4 separate regions of the Homo sapiens genome follow, and all the other regions are linked to region 1. Evidence: promoter capture Hi-C in 16 types of primary human blood cells and fetal thymus (Javierre and others, 2016). All regions are on one chromosome and are shown on one strand. Each heading gives the region's core, a stretch centred on a gene start or on the middle of the fragment in contact. The rest is flanking DNA. Distances are from core to core; before and after follow the strand shown. Region 1 holds the start of LIN54 (lin-54 DREAM MuvB core complex component). Region 2 has its middle 81 kb from the start of HNRNPD. Region 3 overlaps GPAT3 (glycerol-3-phosphate acyltransferase 3). Region 4 holds the start of LOC105377310 (a long non-coding RNA gene).

The links. The method cuts DNA at HindIII sites, captures the fragments that hold promoters and counts their contacts. A CHiCAGO score of 5 or more calls a contact.
Region 2: a fragment that was not itself captured here is called in contact with the fragment with the promoter of LIN54 in region 1 in 1 of 17 cell types (neutrophils); the score reaches 5.2 in neutrophils.
Region 3: a contact is called between a fragment that was not itself captured here and the fragment with the promoter of LIN54 in region 1, in 1 of 17 cell types (neutrophils). The highest score is 5.2, in neutrophils.
Region 4: a contact is called between a fragment that was not itself captured here and the fragment with the promoter of LIN54 in region 1, in 2 of 17 cell types (naive B cells and non-activated CD4 T cells). The highest score is 5.3, in naive B cells.

Annotation. Positions count from the first base shown.
Region 1 is chr4:83,009,058-83,012,610 of GRCh38, reverse strand. It overlaps LIN54 (lin-54 DREAM MuvB core complex component), which reads left to right and starts at 1,788. Exons shown (of 13, transcript NM_194282.4): 1 at 1,788-2,127. RefSeq lists a silencer at 1,699-1,778 and an enhancer at 1,849-1,948. The HindIII fragment of the contact is 10,339 bases long and covers 1-3,553 here.
Region 2 is chr4:82,291,638-82,295,190 of GRCh38, reverse strand. It overlaps the pseudogene VAMP9P. Among named protein-coding and RNA genes, the nearest start is that of HNRNPD, 81 kb to the left of the region's middle. RefSeq lists a silencer at 1,578-1,778. The HindIII fragment of the contact is 4,339 bases long and covers 1-3,553 here.
Region 3 is chr4:83,557,772-83,561,324 of GRCh38, reverse strand. All of the region lies in intron 2 of GPAT3 (glycerol-3-phosphate acyltransferase 3), which reads right to left. Among named protein-coding and RNA genes, the nearest start is that of GPAT3, 23 kb to the right of the region's middle. The HindIII fragment of the contact is 4,090 bases long and covers 1-3,553 here.
Region 4 is chr4:82,467,637-82,471,189 of GRCh38, reverse strand. LOC105377310 (a long non-coding RNA gene) reads right to left here and starts at 2,185. Exons shown (of 3, transcript XR_007058164.1): 1 at 873-2,185. The HindIII fragment of the contact is 581 bases long and covers 1,423-2,003 here.

The DNA of each region.
Region 1 (3,553 bases), core at 539-3,038:
AGCTGGGTTGCGGGGGGCGAAGGATCCTTGGGGCTCGGTCTCTTCCCGTCGGCTCCCGAGAGGGTGGCTGTCACCCGGCAGGGCCAGCGCTCGGCCAGCCGCCTGCCCGGCGGTCTGGAGTAAGGGCTCCTGCGGCTGTTGACACGCACACTGCGCGACCCAACAAGCCACCCGTGGCGGCCCCAGGTTTCTGGGAACCGGTTTTGCTGCTGTGTCATTTTGTGCCAGTCCCTCCTCTCCCTACTGCCCGCCGCCGCGTTCTTCCTATGCCCCTTTGTACAGGCTCTTGTTCGTGCGTGTCCGTTTTCCTCGCGAAGCCCACCAGCCAAATGTCATAATGTTCCCGAGGTGCACGGGGGAAGGGAGCGGGCCGGGACTTAGCTTGGCCAGCAACGGTAAACAACCAAGCAGAGTGCGGATGGACGGGGCCGTCAGTGGGGAAATGAAGTTTAAAGATGAAGTAATTGAGAACACTTTATACTCTCAGCATCTGGTAGTCTGCATATAAAAACAGCAATTGGGGTGGGTGGTGGACAGCCCTTGTTGAAGGCTGAATCTACCGACTTTTATATGGAGTTGCCATTGAAACAAGGTAGGGAAATGAAATGACTTTTTCAACTTCAACTTCAACCTTACTCTTCCTACACTAACTTAGACAGTAGAGTGGCCCTGTTCGCAGCCTTGAAATTCAGTTTGCCCAGAGCTTATGTTGTGGTTGAATGATACAGAATTCAGCTTTTGGATGGTTAACTCTTTCTAAAATTGACAAAGGCAGCCAGTTTCCTTTTTTTTTTTTTTTAATGCTGATCTCTTCAGAAGCCTTGCAGCTTATGTTTTGTTATTTTTTAAATGATTAAGAATTACCTCTGTTCTCTTTTGGTTACTTATTCAACTGACTGATGACAAGAGCTGGTAACTCTTACCTACCTAGTAGGTAGCTCTAGGATCTTGTTCTGAAGCAAGCTGTTTATTTTTACTGTACAGAACAAATATATCAGCAGCAGATGGTTTTTTTTTAATTTGATGACTTAGATCCTAAAAAAACATTTGGCAAATAATTTTAGCTAAGAGTTATATTTTCAATATTTTAGAAATCGATCATTCATGAATGTTTCTACAATTAGTTCAATCATTTCAAATCTAGTTGCGCTTTGACGTCTTAAACCGATGACAGATTGGAAGTCGCAGTGTTCATGGACAGAAATGACCAGATAAATTAAGTTGGAGAGGAAGATAGCTCAGAACTTTATTTTTTTAAATTAGATATTTTGACCACTTCATCTGCATGAGGATTGCTGCCTGTAATTGACAAAGGTGTCAAAGGTCGAACATGCATATGGAAATAGCTCATCCTGTCAAAGTAGTTCTGCGGGTGGGGTAAAATGTCAAAGTTGGTGAATGACATTAAAGGTCTTTCACAGTGTTTTTAGTGCCTGAGATAGCCACAGTGAATGAAACGCATTCCACCATCTCTCTCAAGTTGCTGCTCTGAAAATGAAAGAGTTTGGGTTCTTTATTGTCCTTATGCCACCCTCCGCATGGCTTTTGGTCTTGCAAACAAAAATATGCCGGACTTGGGACCCCGCAGGTGGCGCGACTTCCTTTGGCGTCCCTGCGGGGGCCCGTGCTCCGCCCGGGGGTGAAAGGTCTCGGCGTAGCCCGTGTGCACTTGCACGGCCCTTGTGCGTTTGAAGGTTGGCGGGGCGGCGGGAGGCTTCCCCGGATATGTGGGTGTGCGCCTCCCGGGTGGGGCGGGCGGGGAGGGGAGGAGGAGGAAGGGGGAGGTTACTGGTGGTGGCGGCGGCGGCGGCGGCCCGGGCTCCGGCTGTCGGGGAAGCTGCTGAGCTGTGATGGTGATGACGAGGTGAAAATGGCGGATCTTTCGAAATACAATCCCGGCCCCTGACATACCAGAGGCGGCGGCGACGGCGACGTCGCCACCCCGGCTCCCTTCTCGGTCCCCGGGTACCCTGGAGCGCTCCAGTTTGGACAAACTGGGAAAGGAAGCTGCTGGCCAGAGCTATCGTGCACGGGCAAAACAAGCCCCGCCGGGGCTCGGGATTGCCCAGGACCTTCTGGAGCCCCTACCTCGGAGCCCGAGGGAGGAGAAAGCGGCAGCCGCTGGAGGTAGAGGAGGATGGGGTACCCGAGGGCTTCTCTGTCCGGAGATCTCTTTATTTGGGGGGATGGGGGTGGGTGGGGAAAGAATTGCGCGGTGGATCAAGGAATGACTTGTCCGGAGTGCGAAGAATCAGTAGCCTCGTCATGACATCAACATTATTCTTTGAGTGTTAAGAGGGCTCCAGTTTGCTCTTATACCTAAGGCTGCTGCTGAGGCCTAGAGGAACCGCTAGCACTTATCATGATTTCCTGATATAATGTTTAAAACAGCCACTCTGGCGGGTGTTGCTTTGATGGTGTTCAGCAGTTCTTGGGGTTGTACGTTTCTTTAGGGAGGCAGAGCATTGGCATTTTATCTGCATTTAAGATCTGTGTCTTAGATCCTAGTCTGTAACTTGTTGGGTTGTGGATGTTCACATTTTATAGAATAGGGACCAGTTTTGTAAGAATTAGAAAAAAAATTTTTAATGCTCTGTTATCCTTAGAGTAACTAACCTCTTTGCCCCTGCCATTTGGCATATAACAATTGAGATACTCTCAGTTATATTTTATACTCATGCTTTTCAGGGAAGTTCTTCTCTATACTCACCCTCCTGCCCCCGCCAACCTAGTTCATGAATTCAGAGAGTAAAGTTATGAAAAATTTTGCTGTAGATTTTATAATGCAAATGAAATACAGCTCTAGGAGCTCTCTTTTGGTCCTGAGTTTTACCTTCATTGTTAAGAAGGAGAGTTGCGATGGGGTGATGCAAGCATTTGTTGTGAGTACATTAAGTTGGGAAAAATAAATTGAGACCTCTGTTATTTCTAAATCACTAAATGCTGGAGTGATTAGCCTAGCCCTTTGTTTAGAGAGCTGGATTGATTGACTATAACAGCCACTGTTTTATTAGGTTATCTGAAGACCCATGTTAAGTTTTAGGTTATGCTGAAAGATCCGTAAGGAGTCTGTCTCCTTGCACACAACACTAGTGTTACAGAAAAGTTACATGTGAATCAAATTTTTAGGCTGGGCAAAAAAATTTTTATACATTAATTTGGACCCTATGCTTTTCCCCCAGCTTTTTTGGGTCAATGACATTGAGTGTATAATGAACAGAAGGATTAGTATTGAGGAATGCCCATGGGTAATGTTTATGATTAGCCCTAAATTTCCGTATTCAAATTGTCTACAGAGAGTATATGTGATATTATTTCCTTATTCAAATTGTCTACAAAGAGTATATGTAACACACTGTGCCATAGTGTGTCATATATCACAAATTTTGTAGTTTACTTAGAGGGGAAATATTTTGTGTGAATAGGTGTGTATAGTTTGTAGGTCTGGCTTTCACTTACTAGAAGAATAAGAGACCCAAAAAAATTTTTAGGAGAAATACCTTAGAGGTACTCAGAAGGTTTAATGATGACGATAATGATTATTTTTTAAAAA
Region 2 (3,553 bases), core at 490-2,989, 720 kb after region 1:
AATCTGTAGAATTTAAATATGTATTTAAAATTGCATCAATAAAAATAAATCAAAGAGAAAACTAATAATTTGGTATATATATATATTTTATTTTTTGAGATGGAGTCTCACTCTGTCGCCCAGGCTGGAGTGCAGTGGTGCAATCTTGGCTCACTGCAACCCCTGCCTCCCGGGTTCAAGCAATTCTCCTACCTCAGCCTCCCGAGTAGCTGGGATTACAGGCATGTGCCACCATGCCTAGATAATTTTTGTATTTTTAGTAGAGACAGGGTTTCACTATGTTGGCCAGGCTGGTCTCGAACTCCTGGCCTCAAGTGATCTGCCTCCCATGGCCTCCCAAAGTGCTGGGATTACAGGTGTGAGCCACCACGCCTGGCCTATATATATATCTATATTTGAAGTCACTCACATTCTAAGACTGAATCAAGATTCTGACTAAATAGAAAATGCTATGTTTGGCTGGATGCGGTGGCTCATACCTGTAATCCCAGAACTTTGGGAGGCTGAGGCGGGTGCATCACGAGGTCAGGAGTTCAAGACCAGCCTGGCCAACATAGTGAAACCCTGTTTCTACTAAAAATACAAAAAATTAGCCAGGTGTGGTGGCGGGCACCTGCAATCCCAGCTACTCGGGAGGCTGAGGCAGAAGAATCGCTTGAACCCAGGAAGTGGAGGTTGCAGTGAGCCAAGATTGCGCCATTGCACTCCTGCCCAGGCGAAAGTGTGGGACTCTGCCTGTAAAACAAAAACAAACACAGAAAATACTATGTTCATTGAATTTTAGTATGTCTATATTTTAGGTAGACATATTTAATTTTGGTACATCTTGGTTTTCTATACATTAGAATTAAAAATTTGTAAACTGCAAATACCAAATATTCAGGATGAGTTGGGGAGGGAGGAATGAATGTTAAAGTGAACCACAGTATGTTAAAATGAACCTTAGCATGACCACTCAACCATCTAGACCTTTCTGCCTTCTCAGAGTCCCACAGTAGGGGCTAGAATCCCCTTGGAAAGTGCCTCCATCCTTTACTGCCCAACAATCCAGAAAATGCAGGAATATGCAACAAAAATAGTTGCTTGGTGCCTAGACTTTAGTCTTTGTGAATACTATCTCTAAATGGTTAACAGGCAACAGACATGGTCAAATGCTAAATTGAATATATATGAGAATGAGGAAACTCAGAAACAGGAAGAAAAGATAATTTCAGAGGCAGAAAATTTAACATATGAACCCTTTCAGTGTAAATCCTTCACATCATATCATGAATACAATATGCTACAAATGTTTTTAATGATTATATTGATTTATACACATAATCTCCACCTAGAAAACATTTTTATTTAAAAATTTGGTGGAGTCCGCTGAAAAAGAGTTGCTAATTGTACCATCTATCTGAAAGTTACACATGTAATTTGAAGTAAATTGATACTGCATGTGAAAAAGAGATATTTTAAATTTATGCTTAGTATGTTATTAATACTATGAGTAATATTCAGAAAGCATCTATAATCTTAAAAACAACTTGAATATCTGATGTTCAGGAGATATCATTAATTGACAAAAGCCAGGTGGAGAAAAGTGTGCATGATGTGCTATCATTTATCTATCACATCATACGCTACCATAAGGGAAGTTCAAATGTACATACAGTAGTCTCTTATTTGTGGCTTCACTTTCTGTGGTTTCTGTTACTCATGGTCAACCGCAGTCCAAAAATAGGTGAGTAAAATGCAATGAGATGTTTTTGTGAGAGAGAGAAAGAAAGATGACATTTACATAACTTTTGTTACAGAATATTGTTATAATTGCTCTATTTTATTATTATTGTTGTTAATTTCTTATTGTACCTAATTTATACATTAAATGTTATCATATATGTATAAAAACACACAGTATATTTTATAGGGTTTGGTACCATCTGTGGTTTCAGGTATCCACAAGACTGGGGGTCTTGGAATGTATCCCCCTCAGATAAGGGAGGGCTACTGTATGTACTCTATATTGTGTTCTTTTTTTTGAGACAGGGTCTGGCTCTCTCACCCAGGCTGGAGTGCAATGGTGTAATCTCTGCTCACTGCAACCTCCACCTCCCGAGCTTAAGCCATCCTCCCACCTCAGCCTCCCAAGTAGCTGGGACTGCAGGTGTGCACCATTATACCCGGCTAATGTATTCTTATAGAATGTATTTCTTATAGGAAAAAAGAAAAGAAAAAAAGATAAACCAAAAACTTGTTCAAAATGGTTACCTACATAGGGGGAAAGAGTAGTAAGGAGAGGAACAGAATGCAAATTAGACTTCTCGAAGGAACTGTTTTGTAGATTTGACTTTGGTACTGCATATATATTTTGCATAATAAAAATGTTATTAATGAAACTTTTAAAAAAAGTAACCATTAGGTCCGGGCACGGTGGGTCACGCCTGTAATCCCAGCACTTTGGGAGGCCGAGGTGGGCGGATCACAGGGTCAAGAGATCGAGACCATCCTGGCAAACATGGTGAAACCATGTCTACTAAAAATACAAAAATTGCTGGGCATGGTGGCGCGCACCTGTAATCCCAGCTACTTGGGAGGCTGAGGCAGGAGAATCGCTTGAACTTGGGAGGTAGAGGTTGCAGTGAGCCAAGATTGCACCACTGCACTCCAGCCTGGCGACAGAGCGAGACTCCGTTTAAAAAACAAAGAAAAAAGTAACCATTAGAAATCAGAAACAAAATGAGAAAGATGGCTTTGTATTGAGTGATCAAGGCAGGAGATGATGGTGGCTTGGTTACTATTTGGAGAGGACAGGCAATGGGATTTGCCCATGGATTGGATTTCAATATAAAAGAGACAAGAGTCAAGAATACTATAGGTTTTAGGCCTGAGGAACTAGAAAAGTGATATGTGGAAGACTTCTGGAAGAGGCTTAGCTTTGGATATGTTTGAGATACTTTAATTAGACATTCAAGCAGAGTGGAACAAGTGGGTATACGAGTCTGGAGTTCAGAAAAAAAGGTCTTCAAAAGATTCAAATTAGAATGTAGAACACAGGTAAGCAAACAGCAAATAAGGAAAGTATCTCTTTTTAAAATCATTTCAGCTAATTTTGTCTGTGAATACAAAACTAGATTATTACCATTTTGCAATCCCTTATAAATTAGTGGCTCTTGGGCCTAGCAATGAGTATCGATAGCTGCTAACATCTCAAAAGGAGATATAATCAGATACCATGTACCATCTGATGCAAAAACACTCGTACTATAGTCCTGCTGAAGGGGTTGAGCCTCTGGGTTGGCTACTTGGTAAATGGTGACCTGAATTTTGAGTATGCAATCAGCAAACCTACACTGTGGGAAACTCTGTCAGTTCTTCAACAATAAACTGCAAGGGAAAAAGAAAAAAAGAAATGGAGGGGGAATAAGTGTATTTAAAGAGATTTAAAAGACATCAAATTAAAAAATGGGCAGGATTGGGCTCCCATCTGAGGATGTGTATTTGGGTGCTGATGCAATGAAGAAACAGGGAAATGACTACTATGGAAGCTGGGATGGTGTCTGATTTTGCT
Region 3 (3,553 bases), core at 724-3,223, 550 kb before region 1:
AAGCATGTTATATAGCCAAAGCCTGTAATCTCTTTCTGGCATTAATCTGCTTTTTAAAAAAATTCTGTTTTGTTTTTGTTTTATTAAAATCATGGCCTCTGGAATTCATTATCAGTTTCTCTCCACTTAAACCAAGAGAGTACTGCTGGTTGCAAAAGGATGTTAGAAATCATCCCCCATTGTGCTGTTTTCTCTAATAATTTGAAGAAGGGTGTTATTTGCTATGTGTATACACTGTCTCCAAAATACATTAACTCCTTGTAAAGGCCTGACGCCAGTTGTATTAGTCTGTTCTCACATTGTTATAAAGAAATACCTGAGATTGGGTAATTTATAAGAAAAGAGGTTTAATTGTCTCACGGGTCTGCAGGTTGTACAGGAAGCATGGCAGCATCTGCTTCTGGGGAGGCCTGGGGAAACTTACAATCATGGCAGAAGGCAAAAGTGGGGACAGGCACACCACATGGCCAGAGCAGGAGCAAGAGAGAGAGACGGAGGGGAGGTACCACACGCTTAAATAACTACATCTTAGGAGAACTCATTCACTGTCATGAGGACAGTACCATGGGGATGGTGCTGAACCATTCATAAGAACCTACCCCTGTGATCTAACCACCTCCCTGCAGGCCCCACCTCCAACACTGGGGATTATATTTCAACATGCGATTTGAGCAGGAGGACACATCCAAACTGTATCACCAGTATTCCTCCAAGTTGCTGTCCTCTGCATAGAGTGCTTTTTCCCAGATACTTAAAGGTAAAGGGGCCAAAGTATCCCACCCACAAAATCTGTCCTCAGTATCCCCTGCATCCTCATGCTTCAGAGTCACTCTTATTTCTCAGGTGAAATGAGCAGGTACGTATGACTGTGATGTCACTTAAATACAAAAAAATACAAAAAAAAAATTCAAACAAAAATAAATAAGAAATGAGCAGGTACGGCTGCCTGGGCACCACACCAGAGAAGCTCAGAGGCAAGGTCCACCCACCCCAGGGAGAAACGCTGAGGATCAAACTGGTGAAGAGCAGGCCACATTGCACTTTCCTCTTGCTCTTGTTCACAAGCTGTTCCTCAGAAATCACAGGAGATGTAAAGGTCTACTGGTTTGCTCCCTGAGGGACCTTCTGGAAACTTCATGGGCCTCTAGGCAATCAAAGCTCTTCTTTCACCAGCCCAATCTTTGGAGGAAACAGAGCTTTGAGGAAGAGAAGCAGGAAAACCAGGCACCTGGTCTAGAAAAGTCAGTGAAGGGGGTCCACAGTGGAGCTTCCACCATACTATTCTGAGGCTGCTTCACAAAGACCAAAGCTCCTGCCTAAAGGTTTTGCCTGCTCCCCAGGCATCCAGACATCACTGGCTTTTTCCTACTCCAACCCAAGAAAAGGATTCTGTCTAATCACAAGTCCAATTGGCTGTCTCTCTTGTCTGACCAAAATCCTGTTCTCGCCAAACAGAAGCACTGCTATCTACTTCCATCTCCCCAGCCTACTGTGTACAAAGCATGCCTTGCCACCTGCCCCCCTCATCTTTTTGTTCATGTGAGAATGCATGGGTCCCAGGAGCTTCGGTGAGAGGACAGAGAAAAATGGGAAATTCCATTACCAAAACATTTTAGAGAAAGAAGAAAAGGCAAAGGAGAATGGAACGATTGTTGCTACTTGCTGGCAGATTAAAAGAACTGATGAAGAACTTTCCTGCTTTCTCCGGGTGCACTGGCTCACGCTTGCGATCCCACACTTTGGGGGGCCGAGGCAAGCAGATTGCCTGAGCTCAGGAGTTCAAGACCAGCCAGGGCAACACAGTGAAACCCCATCTCTACTAAAATACAAAAAATTAGCCAGGCGTGGCAGCATGCGCCTGTAATCCCAGCTACTCGGGAGGCTGAGGCAGGAGAATCGCTTGAACCTGGGAAGCAGGGGTTGCAGTGAGCAGAGACTGGGTCACTGCACTCTAGCCTGGGTGACAGAGCAAGACTCTAACTCCAAAAAACAAAAAAAAAATCTTTCCTGCTTTCTCTGCTTATATACTAAGTAATCCACATGAGATAGTCCCATGATTATAAACACTGCCTAAAGAAGGATTTAAAAATAAACAGACATTTAAAATTTTTATAGAGAACTTTTTACAATCAAGATGACCAGGCACTGTTAAGAAAATGAAAAGAGCTTTGTTATATAACTTATACCTCTCCCAAAATTCTAAACTATTTATCCTACTTGGAAAATATCTCATATAATCTACCTGCTAGTCTGGTCCAGTTTTCTAATCATTTTTTGCTAACAAGAAGTGTTTTCTTATATACAATATAATTCTTTTATTTCCATTTAAGCCAATCTTTTTGTTCCATCTCTTAAGAATTTGAGAAAATGTGGGTTTGCTTCCTCTTTCCAACTTAGTTAACCAACTTAATATGAGTCATCCCTTGGTTTTTCTCTAAATTCAGTAATCAGCCTTCACAGATCTCACTTAACAGATTCACAGATCTCTTAACCATTTTTCAGGCTTCAGAATTTCCTCTTTGCCACCCTTAATATGAACAGTTAACCTGGGTTTATCTACGCTTTTACATCAAATCCAAACTGCTTTGTTTTTAGGGCCTCCAGAACCCAATCTTGCTTTCCCACAACCTTATTTCTATGTTTTGTCCCTTCTATAAACTAAATATACTCCCATTGCTAATTAAGCTATTCCCTCATCCCTCCAGTTTAGACAGTCTTCTCACTTTATTTAATCCCAATCCATCTCCACATGGCCGCTTCAACACCAGTATATCCACCAAAAAACATTTGCCAATGTCCCCCATCCAGAATGATCTCCTTTCATATTGCAGGCAGAAACCAGGGTGAGTGGTTCAGTCATGGCTGTGTGGTTGAATGTGCTGGTTCTGTTAGCACTGCAGCATCTTTTTAGGTTCTGTTTTGCCTTGTTTTTCACTGGTTGTCTAAACCTCTGCCTCTGTCATTCTGTGGCACACCTTTATCACGTAACCCAGCCCAGTTTTTTTAATCCCATTTTAGAGCATCAGCTATGGGTAAACAATCTTGAAAGCAGTCCCACTCTCTGATGGTTCATTCATCAAAACTGTCAAGATGACTTTCTTTTTTTTTTTTAAGACAGAGGCTTGCTGTGTCGCCTAGGCTGGAGTGCAGTGGTATGATCTTGGCTCACTGCAACCTCCGCCTCCCCAATTCAAGTGATTCTCCTACCTCAGTCTCCCTAGTAGCTGAGATTACAGGCATGCACCACCATGCCCGGCTAATTTTGTGTATTTTTAGTAGAGATGGGATTTCACCATGTTGGCCAGGCTGGTCTCGAACTCCTGACCTCAGGTGATTCACCTGCCTCGGCCTCCCAAAGTGCTGGGATCACAGGCATGAGCCACCACACCCAGTCAAGATGACTTTAAATTCTATTCCGGTTTCCTACATTGTTTAAAACTCTGAGTCTCCAATCAACTTCATTGCCCTTTACATTATGTCAAATTCATCAATACTACCTCAAACAATAAAATCAAATGCATGCCAAAACCCAGCTACTCAACATGTTCCCCAA
Region 4 (3,553 bases), core at 464-2,963, 540 kb after region 1:
CAGCAGCAACAAGAACAACTCCACCCACAAATGCTATCTGGGTCAGAATAAAGAAAAGATGTAAGGTATTCAATGAATATTTCTGTATAAAGCAGAACTAAGAGATTTATTTACCAGTCAATATTAGAATAACATCTAAGATGACCAGATTTTTGTAAACTATATTTAGATTTGTAGCCAGAGATAATTAAGAGCACTGGGGGGAAAGGGCTTAGACTAAACACAGCAACAAGTGGATTCAGTGACTAGAAGTACTCCAGATAGAGACCAGCTGGTGATTTGCTTTTTGCATTGTCCTAGGAGAGAGCTTTCTCAAAATACATTTGACTTCCTTATCGTATCCATAAGCATTATCATTACTTGCCCTTGGAAGGCTTTAAGCAGTACCCTTTTCTAGTATAAAGCCTGAAAGCACTATGCTTATTATCAGCAGTCTTTTTCTATTGTGGCATTTTATTTTGTAGGAATAACTACTGGAGCTTCAAGCACAGGCTGCTAGGAATGGGAAGAAAACGAATTTGAGAGGCACTGTGCAAAAGACAACAGGTGTGACTTGCTGCCTGTGGAGGAGGGTGAAGGGGAAGAAAGCGTCAAAGACATTCTGAAGGTTCAAGCCTGTATGACTGGGAAGATGGGGACACTTGCAAAATGTAGGAAGATAAGAGATGCCACCACTTGGAAGGAGACGGGGGAATGATGAGACAATCTCGATGTTCCTAACTGCATACCCCAGCAGAGGCCTTTTAAAAGCCTCGCTGTGCTGAAACGGATGAAAAATCCTGTCCACTGCTTAGTACTATTTGATTCACGTTGGCTGCCAAACAGATTATCACAAAATGTAGTGGCATAAAGCCACCATTTATTATACTCACAGATTCTGTGGGTCAGGAATTCAGACAGGGCACAGCAGGGACAGCTTTTCTCTGAAGTCTGGGGTCTCTACTAGAGAGCTTGAAGGCTGGACGCTGGAAGCATCTGAAGACCAGCCTATTCTTGTGTCTGGAGGTCAAGGCTGGCTGTCAGCTTGAGGCCTTAGTTTTTCTCCATATGGGTGAATCTGGGCTTCTCACAGTGTGGTAGCTGACTTCCCCAGAGCAATTGTCTAACCCCAGCTCTTGAAAAAAGTGAGTCAGCTAGAAGCTGTATCATAACCTAGCTTAGAAAGTTACAAACCATGGCCTCTGTTGTCCTTGTTTGGTTGGAGCAGTCGTAAGTCCCACCCAGTCTCATAGAATGGAACATAGGCCCCACCTCTTGGTGAGAGGACTGCAAAAGTCACATTGTAAGAAAAGCATGTAGGGGTGACATCCATGAACAGGGAAGAATAAGGAACATCAAAAGTCCCTCCAAAAAAGCAATAAATAAACTGGCAAAAACTGCCAGAATCAACTTTTTTAGAATTCTAGAACCTAAGCAAAAGCTTACAGCAACCAGGAGGACTTAATCAAGAAAGACTAACTACTTTTGCAAAAATTATGAGTGAGGGAAATCTAACATAACTGACTCCATCTTCCTTCTAACCTCACAAGCTGTCTTTGCTCATTCCAGGCTAACTATAGGAGGAATTTTGTATTTACTTTTATTTTTATTTTTTGAGACAGGGTTTCACTCTGTCACCCAGGCTGGAGTGCAGTGACACACTCATGGCTCACTGCAGCTTCGACCTCCCAACCTCAAGCAATCCTACTGTCTCAGCCTCCTGAGTAGCTGGGACTACAGGCACATAACCACCATGCCCAGCTAATTTTTGTTTTGTTTTCTTTTGTTTTGATAGATGGGGTTTCATCATATTACCCAGGCTGGTCTTGAACTCCTGGTCTTGAGTGATCCTCCCACCTTGGCCTCCCAAAGTGCTGGGATTACAGGTGTGAGCCACCGTGCCTGGCCTACGAATTTATAGTTTAATGTTAAAACAAAAATGAAAATAGTTCCTTCTCATAACTAACCCCCTCCTTGCTCAGGACCAAAACTGCTTTTGTAAAACTAACCAAAGGCCTCAAGCTTAGAAATGTGATAGGGCCCTGAATTCTGCTAAGATGTAGGCACAAACTCTAATCAGCCATTGTTTCTTCTGCTAAGATGTAGGCAGAGTTAAACTCTAACCAGTCATTGTTTTATAACTTGACTGTTTAAAACTACTTGGCCCGGCACGGTGGCTCATGCCTATAATCCCAGCACTTTGGGAAGCTGAGGTGGGTGGATCACGAGGTCAGGAGTTCAAAACCAGCCTGGCCAAGATGGTGAAACCCCATCTCTACTAAAAATACAAAAAAATTAGCCGGGTGTGGTTGTGGGTGCCTGTAATCCCAGCTACTCGGGAGGCTGAGGCAGAGAATTGCTTGAACCTGGGAGGTGAAGGTTGCAGTGAGCCGAGATGGCACCACAGCACTCCAGCCTGGGCTATAGAGTGAGACTCCATCTAAAAAAAAAAAAAAAACTCTTTACTACTCAGAAGTCACATAGCCACTGGTCACAAGATTTGTAACTTCCCCCAAATGCCCCTGTGGATAACATCACTGTTATAAAACCTAAGACTGATGTTTGAGATATTTTTCAGATTTGAATTTCGTATGGACCAACTGGCACCACCCATTAAAAAAAGTTGCACCCAGATATCAACTCAGCAAAAGAATAGCAACCCCCTATGATTTCATCCTTGACCCAACCCATCAGCATTACTCATTCCCTAGCCTCCTGCCCACCAAACTATCCTTGAAAAACCCTAGTCCCCGAATTCTCAGGGAGGTGGATTTGAGAATTATTTCCCGTCCATCTGCTTGGTGGGCCCTGTGATAATGAAATTATTTGCTGCAACACTCTTGCTGCTCTTAGTGCATTAGCTTTTCTGGGCAGTGGGCAAGAAGAACCCAGCTGGGCAATTACAAAACTACCTGAATCTCAGCAAAAGCTCAGGAAGCTCTGTGGTGATTTAAGTTACCCTCCTTCTAACTCCCACTCCTGTGCTCAGTGATGATGGCCTTGAAGGTAAGAGCCCAGGTTTCTAGCACAGGTAAGAATGCCAGAGGGAGCAGAATAATGGATCTCATTCACAAAGAATTGTGGTCATTCGTTTTGAGCTGTGCGTTTGTCTGCTTGGGCTGCTGTAACAAAATGCTACAGACTGGGTGGCTTAAACGACAGAAATGTATTCTCTTACAGTTCTGGAAGCTCAAAGTCCAAGATCAAGGTTCTGGCAGATTTGGCTTTTAGTGAAGGCTCCTCCTGGCTTGTAGATGCCACCTTCTCAGTGTGTCCTCACATGGTGGAGAGTTCTCTGGTGTCTCCTCCTCCTTTTATAAGGCCACCAATCCATTGGATTAGGGCCCACCCTTATTAACTCATTTAATCTTCATTGCCTCCCAAAGGCCTTATCTCCAAATATAGTCACATTGGGGCTTAGCTAGGGCCTCAATATATGAATTTGTGGGAACACGATTAAGTCCATAGCAACGTATCTGGTGGCTCCTTAGCTGAATGGGCTTACTATTATCTTGCCTAACTTGGAACTCTGCCAGTTCTGAGGCAGCTACCAGGGTCCTTTGATGAAAAGTTA